4 separate regions of the Homo sapiens genome follow, and regions 1, 2 and 3 are each linked to region 4. Evidence: promoter capture Hi-C in 16 types of primary human blood cells and fetal thymus (Javierre and others, 2016). All regions are on one chromosome and are shown on one strand. The core of a region is centred on a gene start or on the middle of the fragment in contact, and the rest is flanking DNA. Distances in the headings are between cores, read along the strand shown. Region 1 overlaps ZFYVE9 (zinc finger FYVE-type containing 9). Region 2 overlaps ZFYVE9 (zinc finger FYVE-type containing 9). Region 3 overlaps ZFYVE9 (zinc finger FYVE-type containing 9). Region 4 holds the start of ZFYVE9 (zinc finger FYVE-type containing 9).

The links. The method cuts DNA at HindIII sites, captures the fragments that hold promoters and counts their contacts. A CHiCAGO score of 5 or more calls a contact.
Region 1: a contact is called between a fragment that was not itself captured here and the fragment with the promoter of ZFYVE9 in region 4, in 3 of 17 cell types (M1 macrophages, M0 macrophages and endothelial precursors). The highest score is 6.1, in M1 macrophages.
Region 2: a fragment that was not itself captured here is called in contact with the fragment with the promoter of ZFYVE9 in region 4 in 1 of 17 cell types (endothelial precursors); the score reaches 5.1 in endothelial precursors.
Region 3: a fragment that was not itself captured here is called in contact with the fragment with the promoter of ZFYVE9 in region 4 in 4 of 17 cell types (M1 macrophages, M2 macrophages, M0 macrophages and 1 more); the score reaches 10.2 in M1 macrophages.

Annotation. Positions count from the first base shown.
Region 1 is chr1:52,282,187-52,286,418 of GRCh38, forward strand. The region is part of intron 10 of ZFYVE9 (zinc finger FYVE-type containing 9); the gene reads left to right. Among named protein-coding and RNA genes, the nearest start is that of CC2D1B, 82 kb to the right of the region's middle. The HindIII fragment of the contact is 3,481 bases long and covers 1-3,241 here.
Region 2 is chr1:52,322,533-52,327,108 of GRCh38, forward strand. All of the region lies in intron 13 of ZFYVE9 (zinc finger FYVE-type containing 9), which reads left to right. Among named protein-coding and RNA genes, the nearest start is that of CC2D1B, 41 kb to the right of the region's middle. The HindIII fragment of the contact is 6,065 bases long and covers 1-4,576 here.
Region 3 is chr1:52,300,531-52,305,202 of GRCh38, forward strand. It overlaps ZFYVE9 (zinc finger FYVE-type containing 9), which reads left to right. Exons shown (of 19, transcript NM_004799.4): 13 at 3,291-3,395. Among named protein-coding and RNA genes, the nearest start is that of CC2D1B, 63 kb to the right of the region's middle. The HindIII fragment of the contact is 3,144 bases long and covers 1,093-4,236 here.
Region 4 is chr1:52,139,963-52,144,223 of GRCh38, forward strand. ZFYVE9 (zinc finger FYVE-type containing 9) reads left to right here and starts at 2,127. Exons shown (of 19, transcript NM_004799.4): 1 at 2,127-2,441. It overlaps LOC107984956 (collagen alpha-2(I) chain-like), which reads left to right. Exons shown (of 5, transcript XM_047439476.1): 2 at 1,231-1,327; 3 at 1,473-1,519; 4 at 1,815-2,441. RefSeq lists a silencer at 1,927-2,786. The HindIII fragment of the contact is 13,456 bases long and covers 1-2,816 here.

The sequences.
Region 1 (4,232 bases), core at 251-2,750, 140 kb after region 4:
TTCAAATTTCAAAAACAATTAGCATACATGACTATGGCTTCAAAATAAATTGTAAATATTAACTGTAACAACTTAAAAGTAAAAGCATAGAGGTTAGAAGCTGGGAAAGACTAAGGATATTAACATAAAAAGAAACTAAGATTGAGAGAAAAGAAACACATTATTTGACATTATAGTTATTTATTATGACATTGTGTTATTTGACATTACAAAGTCAGCCTCCCTTTGATTTAACAAATGAGGTAGAAAAACGGTGTAATTGAACTATTCTCGTTTATTGTAACAGGAAGTCAGTACATAATATCTGTATTTGATAAATAGGGTTTATCTTTGAGGAAGAAGGCCTGGAGAGGGTGTGAGGGTGACCGGGGTATTAAAACTATTTTCATGTATTATTTGATAATATTTCATACATATATTAAAACAATAAATTATTCAGACTTTCTTAATGCAATAATTTTCATTGTGGGATTCTGTGCCAAAGACAGTATCCAGAATATAAAATGCACTTCTGTGAATGAAAGGGTTTATTGCAACATTACCTAAATTTAACACAAAAATTCAGAAGCAACCTGAATGCCTTAGCTATAGGTGGAAAGTTTAACTGTGTTATACTTATTAGATGTGAGGATCTTTTTGAGAACTTTTTTTGGCCATTAAAACAATATTTATGAAAAGAATGTAGTAACATGGAAAATGCTCTTTAAATAATTACAGAAGCAGGATATATAATTGTATTTTTAATGTGATGTAGATTATGCGTAAAAGATTGTGCCTTTATGTCTTCATTAGTCTCTACAATAATTTAGGTGTAGCATTACATAAGGGCAAGGTGATACATTGGAAACTGACCACATGATACCTGTGAAGTACCTTTTAATGTTTACCCTGTCTGTTCCAAAATGTATAGGGTTAAATCTGAAATCATCCAGGTCCTCCAGGCCACATAATACCCTGGAGCTGAATTTAGTCCTGGAAATAACTGGGAACTTTCACTTTTCTCCTCAATCTGAATGTATTCACTTTTAAACACTCTAGAAAAATGGCATTGGAGGTTCAAGTAATTGTAGATTCATGTGGGTTTTGAGAGTGTGTTAGAGACTAGGGTATGGGAGGTTCATGAATGTCTTATTTAGGAGCCCATGCTTTATTCTGTAGGCAATGAAGAACCATTGAAAGTATTTGAGATGATGAGTGACATAATCAGATTTGCATTTTAGAAAGATGACTCTGGAAGCAGTGTGAAAAATGGATCAAAGTCCGTGAGTCTGGTGGCAGTTAAGAAGCAATTTCAGGATAAGCAAATGTATATTCATACACTAGAATACTGCTCAACAGTAAAAATGAACTAACTGCTGATGTACACAACAACATGCATGAATCTCACAGACATTATGCTGAGCAAAAGCCAGGCACAAAAAAGTACATATTGGATGATTCCATTTATATGGTTTTCTAAAACAGGCAAAATTAATCTTTGGTGATAGAAATTAGGTCAGTGTTTGCCTAAAGTGAGGTGGGGGTGCAGGTGCTAGAACTGACTACAGAGAGTCCCAGAAAACTTTCTGAGATGAGAGGTCTATATCTGGATTAGGATAGTGGTTATGTGGGTGTTTGCCAAAACTCATTGAAATGTACACTTAAAATCTATCATTTTTATAATATATAGATTATACCTCAGTAAAATTTATTTTTTAAAAAGATATTGCAGGAATCCAGCAAGAAATTAAGAAATTATCAGGATTTAAATTAAATAATTGCAGTGGAAATAAAGAAGAGTATTGGAGAGATACGAAAGATGTGGTGCTTCAATTCAGTAGGATTTGGTAACTAACTGGATATAGGGGGTTAGAGGGGACAAGTCAAGGTTGGCCTCAGATTCCTCGCTTGAGCACCTAAGTGTATGTTGGTCTTCTTCTATTCACCATCTTGATGAATAACAGATTTGGCAGAGGTAAGGGAATTCTTTGTTCAGTGTGCTGAATTTGAAATAATGACATCAGATGAAACATGAAAATGGCAGATGATTATATGGGTATGGATCCCAGAAGATAGATCTGAGTTAAAATACAGATTTTGGAGACACAGCTTTCCTGTGATAGTTGAGAGTATCGTTGTGAATGGGATAGGCCTGTGTGAAGAGACTACGGCTGTAGATGGAATCCTGAGAGATAGACATCCTCTCAAGGAGAGGATGTGAATTATTGCATGAATTATTAAAATATGTTTAGCATAAATTTTTTTTTTTTTTGAGATGGAGTCTCGCTCTGTCACCCAGCCTGGAGTGCAGTGGCGCTATCTCAGCTCACTGCAAGCTCCACCTCCCAGGTTCACGCCATTCTCCTGCCCCAGCCTCCCAAGTAGCTGGGACTACAGGCGCCCGCCACCACGCCTGGCTAATTTTTTGTATTTTTAGTAGAGACGGGGTTTCACCGTGTTAGCCAGGCTGATCTTGATTTCCTGACTTCGTGATCCGCCCGCCTCGGCCTCCGAAAGTGCTGGGATTACAGGCGTGAGCCACCGCGCCCAGCAATGGTTATTTTTTTAAAAAGGATACTTATATGTCAGTTCAGTCCATTTTGAACTATTGCAAAAATTTTGAAACAACAAAAATACTTGGAACTGATTACAAGATACTAATGATAGTCTAAGGTCAGACTATAATACATCTAAGCCAACTAAAAATATTTTCTATAATGTAGGATAGGGACACGAACATATATATGTATATCTAAGGAAATAACATTTCAAAAGCATAAGTGAGACGAAAGAGTTTTTCCTTGAATAGGAATCATTTCACAACTCATCAAATATTGGGACTAGAAGGCATTTTAGATAATTTAATACAAACTCTTCATTTTTTAGATAAGGAAAATCAGACCTAGAAGTGTTAATGGCGTACCTAAATCACAGACCAAGTTGGTGGCAGAATTGGGACTGTAGCTCCCAGATCAGTATTGTTTACATTATGTCAGTTGCCTCTGTGTACCATTAATAATATATCAGTTCTTAAAAACACAGATATATTATCTATATACTATACATATTTATTAAGAACCTTATTTTTAGATAATCAGGGTAATAGCTTGATATATTTCACTATAAATTTTTTAATAAGTAAAAGCATATTTTGGGTGTTCTAAAACGGGGTCCCCAACCCACAGGCCATGGACTGGTATTGGTCCGTGGCCTGTTAGGAACCAGGCCACACAGCAGAGGTGAGGGGCAGGCAAGCAAGTAAAGCTTCATCTGTATTTACAGCTGCTCCCCATTGCTCACGTTAGCGCCTGAGCTCTGCCTCCTCTCAGATCAGCAGCGGTATTAGATTCTCATAGAAGTGCGAACCCTGTTGTGAACTGCGCGTGTGAGGGATCTAGGTTGTGTGCTCCTTATGAGAATCTAATGCCTGATAATCTGTCACTGTCTCCCATCACCCCCAGATGGGACAGTCTAGTTGCAGGAAAACAAGCTCAGGGATCCCACTGATTCTACATTATGGTGAGTTGTATAATTATTTCATGACATATTACAATGTAATAATAGAAATAAGGTGCACAATAAATTTAATGCGCTTGAATCATCCTGAAACCGTCTCCCCTTCCCCACAGTCCGTGGAAAAATTGTCTTCCACAAAACCCATCCCTGGTGCCAAAAAGGTTGGAGGCTACTGTTCTAAAATGATAGCAGGCTGGGCACGGTGGCTCATGCCTGTAATCCCAGCACTTTGGCAGGCCAAGCCGGGTGGATCACCTTAGCTCAGGAGTTCAAGACCATCCTGGCCAACATGGTGAAACCCCATCTCTACTAAAAATACAAAAAATTAGCCGGGTGTGATGGTGGGCGCCTGTCATCCCAGCTACTTGGGAGGCTGAGGCAGGAGAATTGCTTGAACCCTGGAGGCAGAGGTTGCAGTGAGCCAAGATCGTGCCATTGCACTCCAGCTTGGGCAACAAGAATGAGACTCTGTCTCAAAAAAAAAAAAAAACGTATCGCAATTTATTATTTTTCTCTTCTGTGTAGCACATTGAGTGAAATTGACAAATTGTATCTTAAATTTCTCCTGAGTGTGAAACCTTGAATACTGTATTACTAGCTTAGGGTTATTCTGCCCTAAATCACAGAAAAGCCTTAGGAGCTATTGAATGAACTTTTTTATAACTTCCTGTGAATTTTAAAATCTAAACTACAGGTATTTAATAACCATATGTGTGTTGTATATCTATATATGTGTG
Region 2 (4,576 bases), core at 1,308-3,807, 180 kb after region 4:
ATGCCCGGCTAATTTTTGTGTTTTTAGTAGAGACGGGGTTTCACTATATTGGCCAGGCTGGTCTCGAACTCCTGACCTTGTGACCTGCCCGCCTTGGCCTCCCAAAGTATTGGGATTACAGGAGTGAGCCACCATGCCCAGCCTGGTCCTTTCAAAACTAAGTCATATCATATCACTCCTCTGCTTAAAACCTTCCACAGATTTTTCATCCCAATCAGAATGACACAAGTCCTCTACACCATTTGTATTTCTCGACTCATTATCTCTGTGATCTCTTTTTTTCTTTTTTGGAGACAGAGTCTCGCTCTATCGCCCAGGCTGGAGTGCAGTGGCGCGATCTCAGCTCACTGCAAACTCTGCCTCCCAGGTTCACGCCATTCTCCTGCCTCAGCCTCCTGAGTAGCTGGGACTATAGGCGCCTGCCACCGCGCCCAGCTAATTTTTTGTATTTTTAGTAGAGACAGGGTTTCACCGTGTTAGCCAGGATGGTCTTGATCTCCTGACCTCGTGATCCGCCCATCTTGGCCTCCCAAAGTGCTGGGACTACAGGTGTGAGCCACCACGCCCGGCCCTCTGTGACCTCATTTTTTATAACTATTCCTTTTCTGTCACTCAGCTCTGGCCACACTGTCCTCAGTGTTCCTTGAAATTCCAGGGCATGCTACCTTACTGCCCTCCAGGGCCTTGCACGTATCCCCATGCAGTGGGATAAAAGCCTTTGGCTTTTCCCTCACTTTTTTCAGTAAGACATCCTCTGACTCTCCTATTTAAAATTGTACCCACCAATACTCCCAGTCCTCCTTCCATGTTTTATTTTTCTCTGTAGCACTTGTCATTGTATAATAGTTTTATGTATTTTACTTATTTGTTTATTGTTTTTGTCTCCTCCTCCTACACACAAGAATATAAGCTCTGTGAGGGCAGGAATTTGTTTGCTTGTCTACTACTGAATAAAGCAAGCACTAAAACAGTGTCTGGCACGTATTAGATACTCAATGCCCATTGGCTAAATGAATAAGTATTTTCTAAATGAATGAGTGAAGGCAGCCTGGGCACATAGCGTGAGACCTCAGCTCTACAAAATAAAAGTAGGCCAGAGGGCCAGGCACTTTGCCTCATGCCTGTAATCCCAGCACATTGGGAGGCCAAGGAGGGAGGGTCACTTCAGGTCAGGTGTTTGAGAGCAGCCTGGCTATCATGGTGAAACCCATCTCTACCAAAAAATAACAAAAATTAGGCGGGCATGGCAGCACATGCCTATAATCCCAGCTATTCGGGAGGCTGAGGCAGGAGAATCACTCCTGAGGTCCGGAGTTCACAACCACCCTGACTAACGTGGTGAAACCCCGTCTCTACTAAATACAAAAAAAAAAAAAAAAAGCCAGGCGTGATGGCGCATGCCTGTAATTTGAGCTACTTGAGAGGCTGAGACAGGAGAATTGCTTGTACCTGGTTGGCGGAGATTGCAGTGAACTGAGATTGTGCCATTGCACTCCAGCCTGGGCAACAAGAGCAAGACTCAGTCTCAAAAAAAAAAAATAACCACAAAAAAACAAATGAAAATAAAGATAGCTGGGCATAGTGGTACATAGCTATAGTCTGTGTACCTGGGAGGCTGAGGTGGGAGGCTCACTTGAGCCCAAGAGTTGGAGACTGCAGTAAGCTATGATTATGCCACTGCACTCCAGCCGGGGCAACAGAACAAGACCCTGTCTCAAAAACACACACACACACACACACAAAAACAAAAACAAAAACAAAACAAAACAGATTGAATGAAGACTCATAGTTGTCAATATGTAGATTCATAGGACTTGAAGATGGGGTCTAGCCTCTGGACACTAGTGAATTTCAGCTAACTGGAAGGGTACGTATTTACATTTTTCTTAAAATTACTCCAAGAAAGTATATTCTTCCACCTTTTCCATCGTTCTTCAGCTCAGTGTTTCTTTCTCACTTCTAGTTCTGTTCCTCACTTATGCTGTTTCCTCTGTCCAAAATATTCTTTTTATATACCTGATAGCCTTTAGCAAACCTCCCTAGAATTCTCCATCCCCTAGACAGTGTCACTGTTTTTCTCCTCCATTTTCCTGTTGTTCTTTATTTCTGTAACATGCACAGGATGATGGGTGTGAATCCTGTCCTCTGAATTGTGAGCCTCTTGAGGGCAGAGAGTAAGTCTTTCATGCTTCCCTGTATCCTTGTAGTTGTTCACTTTTCATAGATTTTTCACACCTTTGTACTGGATCTTCCTGTCTAAAGCCTTTGTTAATCACTTGATAATGTTTGTAGAACTGAATCACTAAAACTTATTTTATTTGGCCGGGTACAGTGGCTCACGCCTGTCGTTCCAGCACTTTGGGAGGCTGAGGAGGGAGGATCACTTTAGCCCCAAGATTTGAAACCAGCCTTGGCAACATAGTAAGAAAGACCCCATCCATACAAAATTAAAAATAAAAGAATTAGGCTGGGCGTGGTGGCTCACGCCTGTAATCCCAACACTTTGGGAGGCTGAGGCGGGCGGATCATGAGGTCAGGAGATCAAGACCATCCTGGCTAACATGGTGAAACCCTATCTCTACTAAAAATACAAAAAATTAGCTGGATGTGGTGGTGGGCCCCTGTAGTCCCAGCTACTCGGGAGGCTGAGGCAGGAGAATGGTGTGAACCCGGGAGGCAGAGCTTGCAGTGAGGCTGAGGCAGGAGAATGGTGTGAACGTGGGAGGCAGAGCTTGCAGTGAGCCGAGACTGCACCACTGCACTCTAGCCTGGGCGACAGAGCGAGACTCCATCTCTAAAAAATTAAATAAATAAATAAATACATAAAAAATAAAAGAATTAGCCAGGTGTGGTGGCACATACCTGTAGTCCCAACTTCTTGGGAGGTTGAGGTGGGAGGGTCACCTGAGCCCCAGAGGTCAAGGCTGCAGTGAGCAGTGATCATGCCACTGCACCCCAGCCTGAACGAGAAGGCGAGACTGTCTCAAGAAATAAAAACAAAAACAGAAACTTATTTTATTAGATACCCAATCTATGTGACACTAATTACAAGTGAATCAAGATTTAAAAGAAAATCGTGCTAACCACATTAACTCTCAGTATAGTTTTATGACTATTACAAGCCATCCAAATCTATTCCTACTTATTCGGTTTACTAACTAGTATATTCAGCAAGTATTTATGGAGTGCCTGCCATGACAAAGGCCCTATGCTAAGCCTAACACATATACAAATTGTATCCACTCCTCAACACTCTGCTTAAACTCCTCTATAAATCCTTTCCAGTTCAAATCGAAAGGCTAGTCATTTTTTAAACATGAGATCTCAGAGAGGAAATTGGAAGTACATGATGTGTTAACTGAAAGATGGATTAGGTGTTATAACTCTTCACACACTTCTGCAGCATAATCATTCATAGAACTGTGTTCTTTTAATTGGCTCCTGTGATTTTTCCGGGACTCCAAGGGTGGGAAACACCGGGAGGTAAAGCTCGTGCTGTTTCACTTGATGTGCTAAAATGGTTCTTATGAGATAATGCTCCTGTAGCATTTAGCTCAGCTTGCTCAGTGCCTGGTTCATGGTTGGTGCTCTGGAAATGTTACGTACTTTGCACATTCTGTTGTTACAGCAGTTGTTTCTCTGCCTTTTACTGGTATGTCATTCTCAATAATTTGTAAACTTTTAGGAAAGGTCTTTAATTTCATTATCTTATAAGAGGTATAGGAGCTACCTGGTTGAATTATTTGCTGCTGATTTTAAGGTTGCTGTAAGGTTCAGTAGGCAGGGTAGGGAAGATGAGCATACAAATTTTATTTAACAAATTGTTTGTTAAAAGAGTACTTATTATATGTTTGATGCTGTCCTAAGCACTTTGTAAATATTAATTTATCTAACTCTCATAACTCTATGAAATAGTTACTTTTATTATCACATTTTATAGAAGAGGGTCCTGGGACACAGAGAGGTTAAGTAAGTTTACCAAAGACACACAGATAGTTACGAGCAAGGCCAGTATTCAGATACTGTTGGTCGAAGGCCAGGCATGGTGGATCATGCCTGTAATCCCAGCACTTTGGGAGGTCAAGGTGGGTGGATCACCTAAGGTCAGGAGTTCAAGACCAGCTTGACCAACATGGTGAAACCCTGTCTCTACTCAATACCAAAAAAAAAAAAAAAAAAAAATAGCTGGACATGGTGGCACATGCCTGTGCCTGTAATCCCAGCTACTTGAGAGGCTGAGGCAGGAGAATCACTTGAACCCAGGACGTGGAGGCTGCAATGAGCCAAGACTGCACCATTGCACTCCAGCCTGGGCAACAAGAGTGAAACTCCATCTCAAAAACAAACAAGGCCGGGCACAGTGGCTCATGCCTGTAACCCAGCACTTTGGGAGGCTGAGGTGGGTGGATCACCAGGTCAGGAGATAGAGACCATCCTGGCTAACATGGTGAAACCCCATCTCTACTAAAAATACAAAAATTAGCTGGGCATGGTGGCATGCACCTGTAGTCCCAGCTACTCGGGAGGCTGAGGTAGGAGAATCGCTTGAACCCAGGAGGCGAAGTTTGCAGTGAGC
Region 3 (4,672 bases), core at 1,415-3,914, 160 kb after region 4:
CAGTGAGCCAAGATCGTGCCACTGCATTCCAGCCTGGGCGACAGAGTAAGACTCAGTTTCAAAAGAAAAAGAAAAAAAATCTTGTAGATTTACCCATCTAGTTGCCATTTCCAGTGTTTTTCATTCCTTTGTATAACTCTGTATTTTCATCTGGTGTCATTTTCCTTCTGCCAAAATGATTGCCTGTAATATTTCTTACAGTGTAGGTTTGCTGCTGATGAATTATTTTAGCTTTTGTATTTCTAACAACATCTTTATTTGATCTTCATATTTGGAAGATACTTTTGGTGGTTGGAGAAGTCTAGGTTGAGTTTTGTTGTTTAGGTTTTTTGGTTTTTTTTTTTTTTGAGACAGAGTCTCACTCTTTCACCCAGGTTGTAGTGCAGTGGCACAATCTCGGCTCACTGCAACTTCCACCTCCCGGGCTCAAGCAATGCTCCCACCTCAGCCTCCCGAGTAGCTGGGATTACAGGCATGCACCACCATGCCCAGCTAATTTTTGTATTTTTAGTAGAGACAGGGTTTCACTATGTTGCTCAGGCTGGTCTTGAACTCCTGACCTCAAGGGATCCTCCTGCCCTGGCCTACCAAAGTGCTGGGATTACAGGTGTGAGCCACCATGCTCAGCCCGAGTTTTCTTCTTTGAGTGTTTTTGAGATGTTGCTCCACTGTCTTCTGCTTTGCATTGTTTTCCCTCTCATCTTTGTTCCTCTCTACATAACAATTTTTTCTTTTCTTAACGTTGTTTTTCTTTTTCCATCTTTTTTTTTTTTTTTTTTTTTTTTTTTGGAAATAGGGTCTCACTCTGTTGCCCAGGCTGGAGTGCAGTGGCACAATCACGGCTCACTGCACCCTTGACCCACAGGGCTCAGGTGATCCCCCCGACCTTGGCCTACCAAGTAGCTGGGACTACAGGTACGTGCCGCTATGCCCAGCTAATTTTGTTTATTTTTTATACAGACAAGGCCTCGCAGTGTTTCTCAGACTGGTCTCCAACTCCTGGGCTCAAGCTATCCTTCCACCTCAGCCTCCCAAAGTATTGGGATTACATGCATGAGCCACTGTGCCTGACCTTCTCTGGCTAGTTTCAAAAGCTTTTTAAAATTACAAGTTTGAAGCAAATTGATTATAATGTGCCATAGTGTAGTTTTCATGTTTCCCGTACTTGGGGTTCATTGAGCTTTTTGAATCTATGGGTTTATAGTTTTCATCTGATATTTTTTCTGTTCATCCCCTTCTCTCCCTGAAGGAGATTACTCCAATTACATATATATCAGGCTGCTTGAAATTGTTTCACGTCTTACTAATGTTCTTTTTATTTCTTTTTCAGTCTTTTTTGTCTCTTGTTTTCATTTAGGATGAATTTTATTGCTGTGCTCTCAATTTCACTAATCTTTTATTTTGGTTTAAGCTGCTGTTAATTCTATCAATCTTTTAAACAATCTCAATCAAATACTTTGATTTTCATCTCTTGAAGTTATACTTGGGTCTTTTAAGATCTTTTATGTCTCTGCTTAACATTTTGTACATGTAGAATACAATATAATAACTATTGTAATGCCTTTAGTAATTCTAACTTCTTGTATAAGTTCTGGCTCCGTTTCCATGGATTGATTTTTTTTCCTTTATTTTGAGTTGTATTTTCCTGCTTCTTTGAATGTTTGGTATTTTTTTATTGGTTGCCAGACATTCTGATTTTACCAGTTGGGTGCTGGTTATCAATATTCTTGAGCTTTTTTTGCAAGTAATGAAGTCAAGTTACTTAGAAAAACCCTCCATCTCACATCATATTCTACATTTCAGTAAATGGCAGTTCCAGTCTTCTAGTAGCCCTGGCTATAAAATTTAGAATCATCTTTAACTTTTATCATTTGTTCACATTCCACATCCACAGTGGCAAATATTATCAGATTTTCCTTTAAAATATGTCTGGAAACAGGCTGGGCGCAGTGGCTCACACTTGTAATCCCAGCATTTTGGGAGGCCAAGGTGGGCGGATCAGCTGAGGTCAGGAGTTTGAGACCAGCCTGGCCAACATGGCAAAACCCCATCTCTACTAAAAATACAAAAATTATCTGGGCCTGGTGGTGCATTCCTGTAATCCCAGCTACTTGGGAGGCTGAGGCAGTAGAATTGCTTGAACCTGGGAGGCAGAGGATTCAGTGAGCCAAGATTGCGCCACTGCACTCCAGCCTGGTTAACAGAGCGAGACTCTGTCTCAGGAAAAAAAAAAAAATCTGTATCTATATATCTAGAAACTGACAACTTCTCATCACTTTTTAAACTGTTAACATCCTGGCCAGGTGCAGTGGCTCACGACTGTAATTGTAGCACTTTGAGAGACCGAGGCAGGTGGATCACCTGAGGTTGGGAGTTCAAGACCAGTCTGGCCAACATGGTGAAACCTTGTCTCTACTAAAAATACAAAAATTAGCCGAGCATGGTGACGCACATATGTAATCCCAGCTACTTGGGAAGCTGAGGCATGAGACTCGCTTGAACCCTGGAGGCGGAGGTTGTACTGAGCCAAGATGGCACCACTGCACTCCAGCTCGGGCAACAGAGTGAGACTCCATCTCAGAATAAATAAATAAACTGTTAACATCCTGGTCTAAGCTCTCACTATCTCCTACCTTGATTGTTTTTATGGTATTTATCTGATCTTTTCTTCCATTCTTCCTCCCTTACCACCTATTCATTACCAAGGAGTCAGATCTGTTAAAACAGGTCAAAAGCCTCCTAAAGGCAAAAGTCCTCACGGTGACCTATAAGAACCTATGAAATCTAGCCATTTGCTATTACTTTGACCTTGAGTCCACCACTCTTGTTCATTTTGTTTCACCCATACTGGATAGATGATGTGTTAGTGTGTGTGTGTGTTTCCTTACAGATATTCATTGAGTGCCTAAGATGTTCCAGGCGTTAAGGATATAGCAAGAACAACACAACTGAGAGTTTGTACTCTCTTGGAGCTTCAGAGGGAGGAGACAGATAGTTAACAAATAAATACAGAAAATGTTAAGTGGTGGTAAAGCAGGGTAGACATTCAAAAATATTTTTTAATGTTGTGTATAAGAGGTATATGATAATGTTTGGTTTACTTATAAGAGTTTAAAGACTAAAGAGCTAAAATACATATAGTGGGGCTTTCATTATACATTTCCTTATTATTTAAATAAATAGGATCTTTCAATATTGACATTTTTTCCATTCGTGTTAATTTTATTACTATAAATTAAACCCTACCATTGATGAATTAATTTATTCTGCTTCAATCTGCTTTGGCCCAGGACTTCAGAAATTACCAGTATACCTTGCCAGTAGTTCAAGGTTTGGTGGTTGATATGGAAGTTCGGAAAACTAGCATCAAAATTCCCAGCAACAGATACAATGAGGTAAGATTTACCATGAAGGCGTATTTTTCATAGTTGAAAACATGAGTGAAGGTGAAAAATGCATGATTATATATAAATTTTACTTATAATTAATTAACAATGAAATCAGTTAATAATATTGTATGGCTTAGTTCAATTATGGGGAATTTCATTACAGGAAGACAAGATGTCAAATTTCTGACCTAGTGGTTCATTGGATGTGTCATTTTACCTTTTGATGTTATGATAATTAGTATTAGATTTGCATTTTGATTAGGTCATGAAATTAGCCTTGTATCTGTAATATTAGTGGTGAGATTTTTAAAATGTCCCCACTCCTACTATAAATATTTATTTATTTATTTATTTATTTTTTGAGATGGAGTCTCACTGTGTCGCCCAGGCTGGAGTGCAATGGTGTGATCTCAGCTCACTGCAACCTCTGCCTCCTGGGTTCAAGTGATTCTTCTGCCTCAGCCTCCCAAGTAGCTGGGATTACAGGCACCCGCCACCATGCCTGGCTAATTTTTGTATTTTTAGTAGAGACGAGGTTTCACCATGTTAGCCAGACTGGTCTCAAACTCTTAATCTCAGGTGATCCACCCACCTCGGCCTCCCAAAGTGCTGGGATTACAGGCACGAGCCACTGTGCCCAGCCGGGTTTCTTTGTATAAAATAATTTTTCCTTCCTTTTTCCTTTTTTTTTCCTTTTTCATTTCATTTTTTCTTCATTTAGCCACTAAATCATTTATGCGTTGAATAAACATTATGTACTTGGTATGCACGTAGAATCACACAGATGTTTTATTGGATTTGTGAGCTCAGTTCTCAGCATTATTATGAGAATGACCTCTGTGAAGAAAGCTTTTAGCCATGACTTTCCACGTGATTTTTTTTTTTTTAAGGATATTAGAAAATAGTAGCTAGAATGTGTGCTTACTTTTTTCTGGGATACAACTAGCAGTCTTCAGCATTTAGATAATCCTGCCTTGGAGTATCAAGGAGTAATCGATGAGACTAGGTAGAGTCAAATCTTTAAAGTGAACTATTTGTAGTTCACAGATCTTGCTCTGTTGCCCAGGCTGGAGTGCAGTAATGCAATCTTTCATGGCCTAAAGAATTTTAAAAGAGATTGTGCTTTGAAAACCTATTTTATTTCTCAAATTTGAAATATTATTGTCTATTTCACAAACATGTATTAAATATATTCTGTGATTTGAAATATAAAGATGAGATAAGAACATTAGGCCTGCTGGCCAAGCGCGATGGCTCACACTTGTAATCCCAGCACTTTGGGA
Region 4 (4,261 bases), core at 877-3,376:
TGGTCTTGGGAACAAATGAATCATCTTCTTCATGTAGTAGCTATGCCCTGGGTTGCATGATTATTCATAAACAAATGCAGGTTTCCTGTGGTGGCAGTGATCTAGGCATGAAAAATACAGTGCTAATATTAGGTTACAGCGCTAATGATCTCAATCAGTTGAAGGGCCCTTTTCCCTTGACTAAACATTTTTTAGCAACAAATGACCCTTACAGCATTTTGTTAATATTGTTGAAAGGACTGTTGGGGCATCAGGTTGGGGACTGAAGGGAATCTCAGGGTCTACTTCCAGCTCTTCCTTAGGTTGGATATATTTCACATGTAAAATGGTAGCATAGGACCTAACTCATAGAATCACTGCGAGGATGAATCATGGTTTCCCTTTGAGCCCCAGTTTCTCTTGTTATAGAAAGGGCATAGTGATTTTTTTGTGACTCAGGAGTATGTGGCAAAGGCACACTTAGGATTATGCAGGAACAGCTTTCATTAAGAGAGCTACTAGGTGACATCTTCTCCATGGTGGCTGCTCAATTATTAAATGAATGATTCCTGGAGACCTTTTGTAGTTTCTATTATTTATCATCATTAGGCCATAACCTAAGGTAAGGTGAGATTGCCTTATAACATTTTTTATACATAAAAAATACTGGTTGCATGCTGCTATCTGCTGTGCAACAGAATGTCATAGGATCCAGTGTATGAGGCTCTATTCTTCCATGGAGGGGTGTTACATAAACCCATTAGTGAAATTTAGGGAAATTTCACCCAGACTAGGGAGGATGAAGAATGGAGCATCTATCTTTTGACAGAAATACAGTTACACACACACATACACACACACATACACACACACAGAGAGAGAGAGAGAGAGAGAGAGAATGAGAAACAAAAACAGAGGAGTACAAAATTGAGCCTAAGAAAAAGAACTGGAACCAATAAAAATTGTAACTAACATTTATTAAGTATCTTCTATGGGCCAGTCTCTTTATCTCCAATCTTCAACAACCAGCAAGGCAGGCAGGAGAAAACTGAAGTTCAAAAATGTTACATAACTTCCCCAGGGTCATAAAGCTATATATACATGACAGAACTGGAACTGGTAGTGTTGGTATGTGTCTGACACCAAAATCACTACACATTCTAGTATACCACTCTGTTAAAAAAGTGTATTTGGAAAATTTAGGGATCAGAGGATTTGGAGAATTTTCTTTCCCTACTTCCCCTCTGACAGTCGTGTTTGTTTTTGGTTCTGATGTTTGCACCCTAGAGGCTGACTGGGATCAAATATGGGGCATCTGTAAACAGAATGATTCCATAGCCCCCACTGTGTAATAATTTCCTTCCTTCAGAGCCTTACTAGGATTTGCCTGGGATGAGGGGTGGAAAGGTGGGAGAGAAGAGGTTGGGAGGGAGAGGATGTTAGTAAAAGATGGGTGATTCTTTGCTTACCTTTAAGTTGTTTATGAATTTCAGGACAACCCGTTGGCTATTCTCTTCTCTGGCTTGGCATATATATATATGTATGTATTTTTTTTTCATTTTTGTTTTGTGGGGGTGGTGGTTTAGGTGTTAAGGGTTTGGTTGATATCTGTAGAAAATTTCTTAATGATCTACACAGTAGATAAAAAAACAAGTTAAGGTCAAAGACAATTCCTTCGTCTGTTTTGGGAGACGAGTGTGTATGTTTGAAAAAAAGGTTTGTTCTGGGTCACTCTTCTTTCATCCAGACGCATTAAAGGAATTAGAAGGGGGTCTCCCTGCCACCCCCGAAACCGTGAGAGTCAAACGGAGATTCCCTTATATTCCTGCTCTCAGGTGCGGGTCCGAGTGACAAGAACGTTCACGTATCTTCGGGAGAGAACGAAAAGGTGCTCGGGTCTGGCGGGGGCGGGGAACGCCAGGGGTTGGTGGGAACTGAGGGGCTTCCGGTTCCCGGGAAGCGGAGTCCCGGGCCGGCCGCGGGCCGCGGGCTACGCAGGGAGCACGGGGCCCTCGCCGCCCCCAGGCCGCGCTCCTTAGCGTTCCCTGCGGCTCGTGCCCAGCGCGGCCGCCGCAGTCCCGACGCCGTAGCCGGACGTGGGGTCCAGGGGGCGCTGTGGCCCAGCGGCGCCGGCGGCAGGAGCGGCCACCCGACGCTGGAGGCTTCGCTGAGGATCCCCGCCTGCCGCACCTCGGTCGTCCCGCCGCAGCCTTGCGCCCCCGGCCCGGCTCGGCGGCGCTCCTCCGGGATCCGCGTGGCTGCCGCGGCCCGGGCGCCGATGCGGCTGGGCGGGTGCCGGGCCTTAGCAGCAGTAGCAGCCGCAGCTGCGGCTACCGCAGCTCCTACAGGAGTGGGAGGTTTCGCGGCGGCGCCTGGGGCCGCGCCGGTGCCCTCCGGAGGAGGCTTTCGGCTCAGGGACGACCCCCGTGGCCATGCTGAAGCGGAGGCGGCCGCTGCTCGAGGTGAGTGTGGCGCGGCGTGGTCCGGGGCTCGCCGGCCTCCCGCCGCCTGTGGGGGCCCTGGCGGCAGACCGCGGGCCGGGCGGACGGGGCGTCCTGCCACTGCGGTCGCCTCCCCCACCCTGCGGTCCTGGGGCCTCAGCCCTTTCTCCCCGCGTCCCCCGGGAGGCTGAAGGCCGTGGGGGGCGATTAGGCCCCGCGCCGTTGGGAAGCCCTCGCTCCGGCCTCGGTTCCGGCGCGGCCGGGTGTGTGGAGCTGGGGGCCGGCAGGAGCACGGCCGCCTTTCGGGTTTGCATGGGCCCGGGCCGAGCGCAGCCTCTTAGCCCGGGCCCTGCACGTACATCCCGGAGGGAGGCAGATGACGCCTGTTTGCAAACAAGCTTTGGCTTCCACGCGTCCCATACCGAGTCCCTCAGAATCCCGGTTGTGGCGGGGAAAGGGGGAGGAGAGGAAGGCCAGGGTGAGAATTGGGGGTGCAGAGAGTGCGGGACCAAGAGAGCCCCTGCTACTCCTGGAGTGTCATTCATGGATCTGGCTTGCTCGAGAACAACCTTTTGCGTCTTATTTGAGGTGAAATTTCATCACCTGCCGGTTGCTCATTCCTGCCTCTTTATATTATATCTTGCCTCTAAGCGTGGTCTGCCTTGGAGAAAGCCCCATCGCATCTTTGCGATGCTAAGTTTTGTAGATAAACACTCACAGTTATAAAAACGTCTTTTACAAAGGTCTGCCCCCCACACCCCGCCAGAAGAAATATTTTTATGCTTCAGTGTTCGGTACAAAAATGTTCCACTTAAAGAGATCCAGAGAATAGTTGGCAAAAGGATTTTAAGTCCTCTTTAAGTGCCAGCTACCCTAATAAATACCTGAAGGAAATGGGATACATGCTAAATTTTAGAAATAAAATGATTTGTTCTGATATTAATGTTGAAAATGCTACTGATTACAGTTTGATACCGTAAGTCAGATATTTATGTTTTGTGAGAAATGTGATTACAGGTTATTCTTGTTTTCCTGTTATGTATGTGAAAGTTATAAGACTTATAGGTACTTGCAAAACTTTTATAATCATGAAAAAATATGCTTATTGTAGAAAACTTGGGAATTATAGAAAGGTACCATGTTGGCTCTTAATAAATATTTAATAATAGGAGAAATCACCCATAATCTCACAGATTGTAAACAGTACAGGTTTATAATGGGCTCGTACTGACAGTGATTTTTAAAATTATTATTTCTGTATATTAGGTTTAAAATTATCTGACTGTTCCATTTTACATTGTCATTTGTATAAGACCTGTAAAAATATTTTACTAAATTACATTGGAACCATGTTGAATTCATCAATTAAAACAGAAGAATATGGGTAACTACCTAAAAGATCCCTGACTTAACCTTCTATGCAGCATGGGGTCTCCATCTAGGGAGAAAGTTTGGCATGGTACACGTTTTTGAAGACCTACTGTGTTAGATGCTGTAGCCTTGCATTGTTTTTGTCAGATTTTAAGTATTTCTTTTAAAAATTGGCTTCATTACCAGTTATTTGGGTAGGTTAATCTCGATTTTTAAAAGTCTAATTCAGGCAAAGTGTGATGGCTAGGCCTACTAGGGAGGCTGAATGGGGAGGACCCCTTGATCCTAGGAGTTCCAGTCCTGCTTGGGCAACGTAAGCAAGATGCCCCTCTCCGAGGCGGGTGGATCATGAGGTCAGAAGTTCAAGACCAGCCTGGTCAATATGGTGAAACCCCGTCTCTACTAAAAATACAAAAATTAGCTGGCATGGTGGTGCCCACCTGTAGCCCCAGCTACTCGGGAGGCTGAGG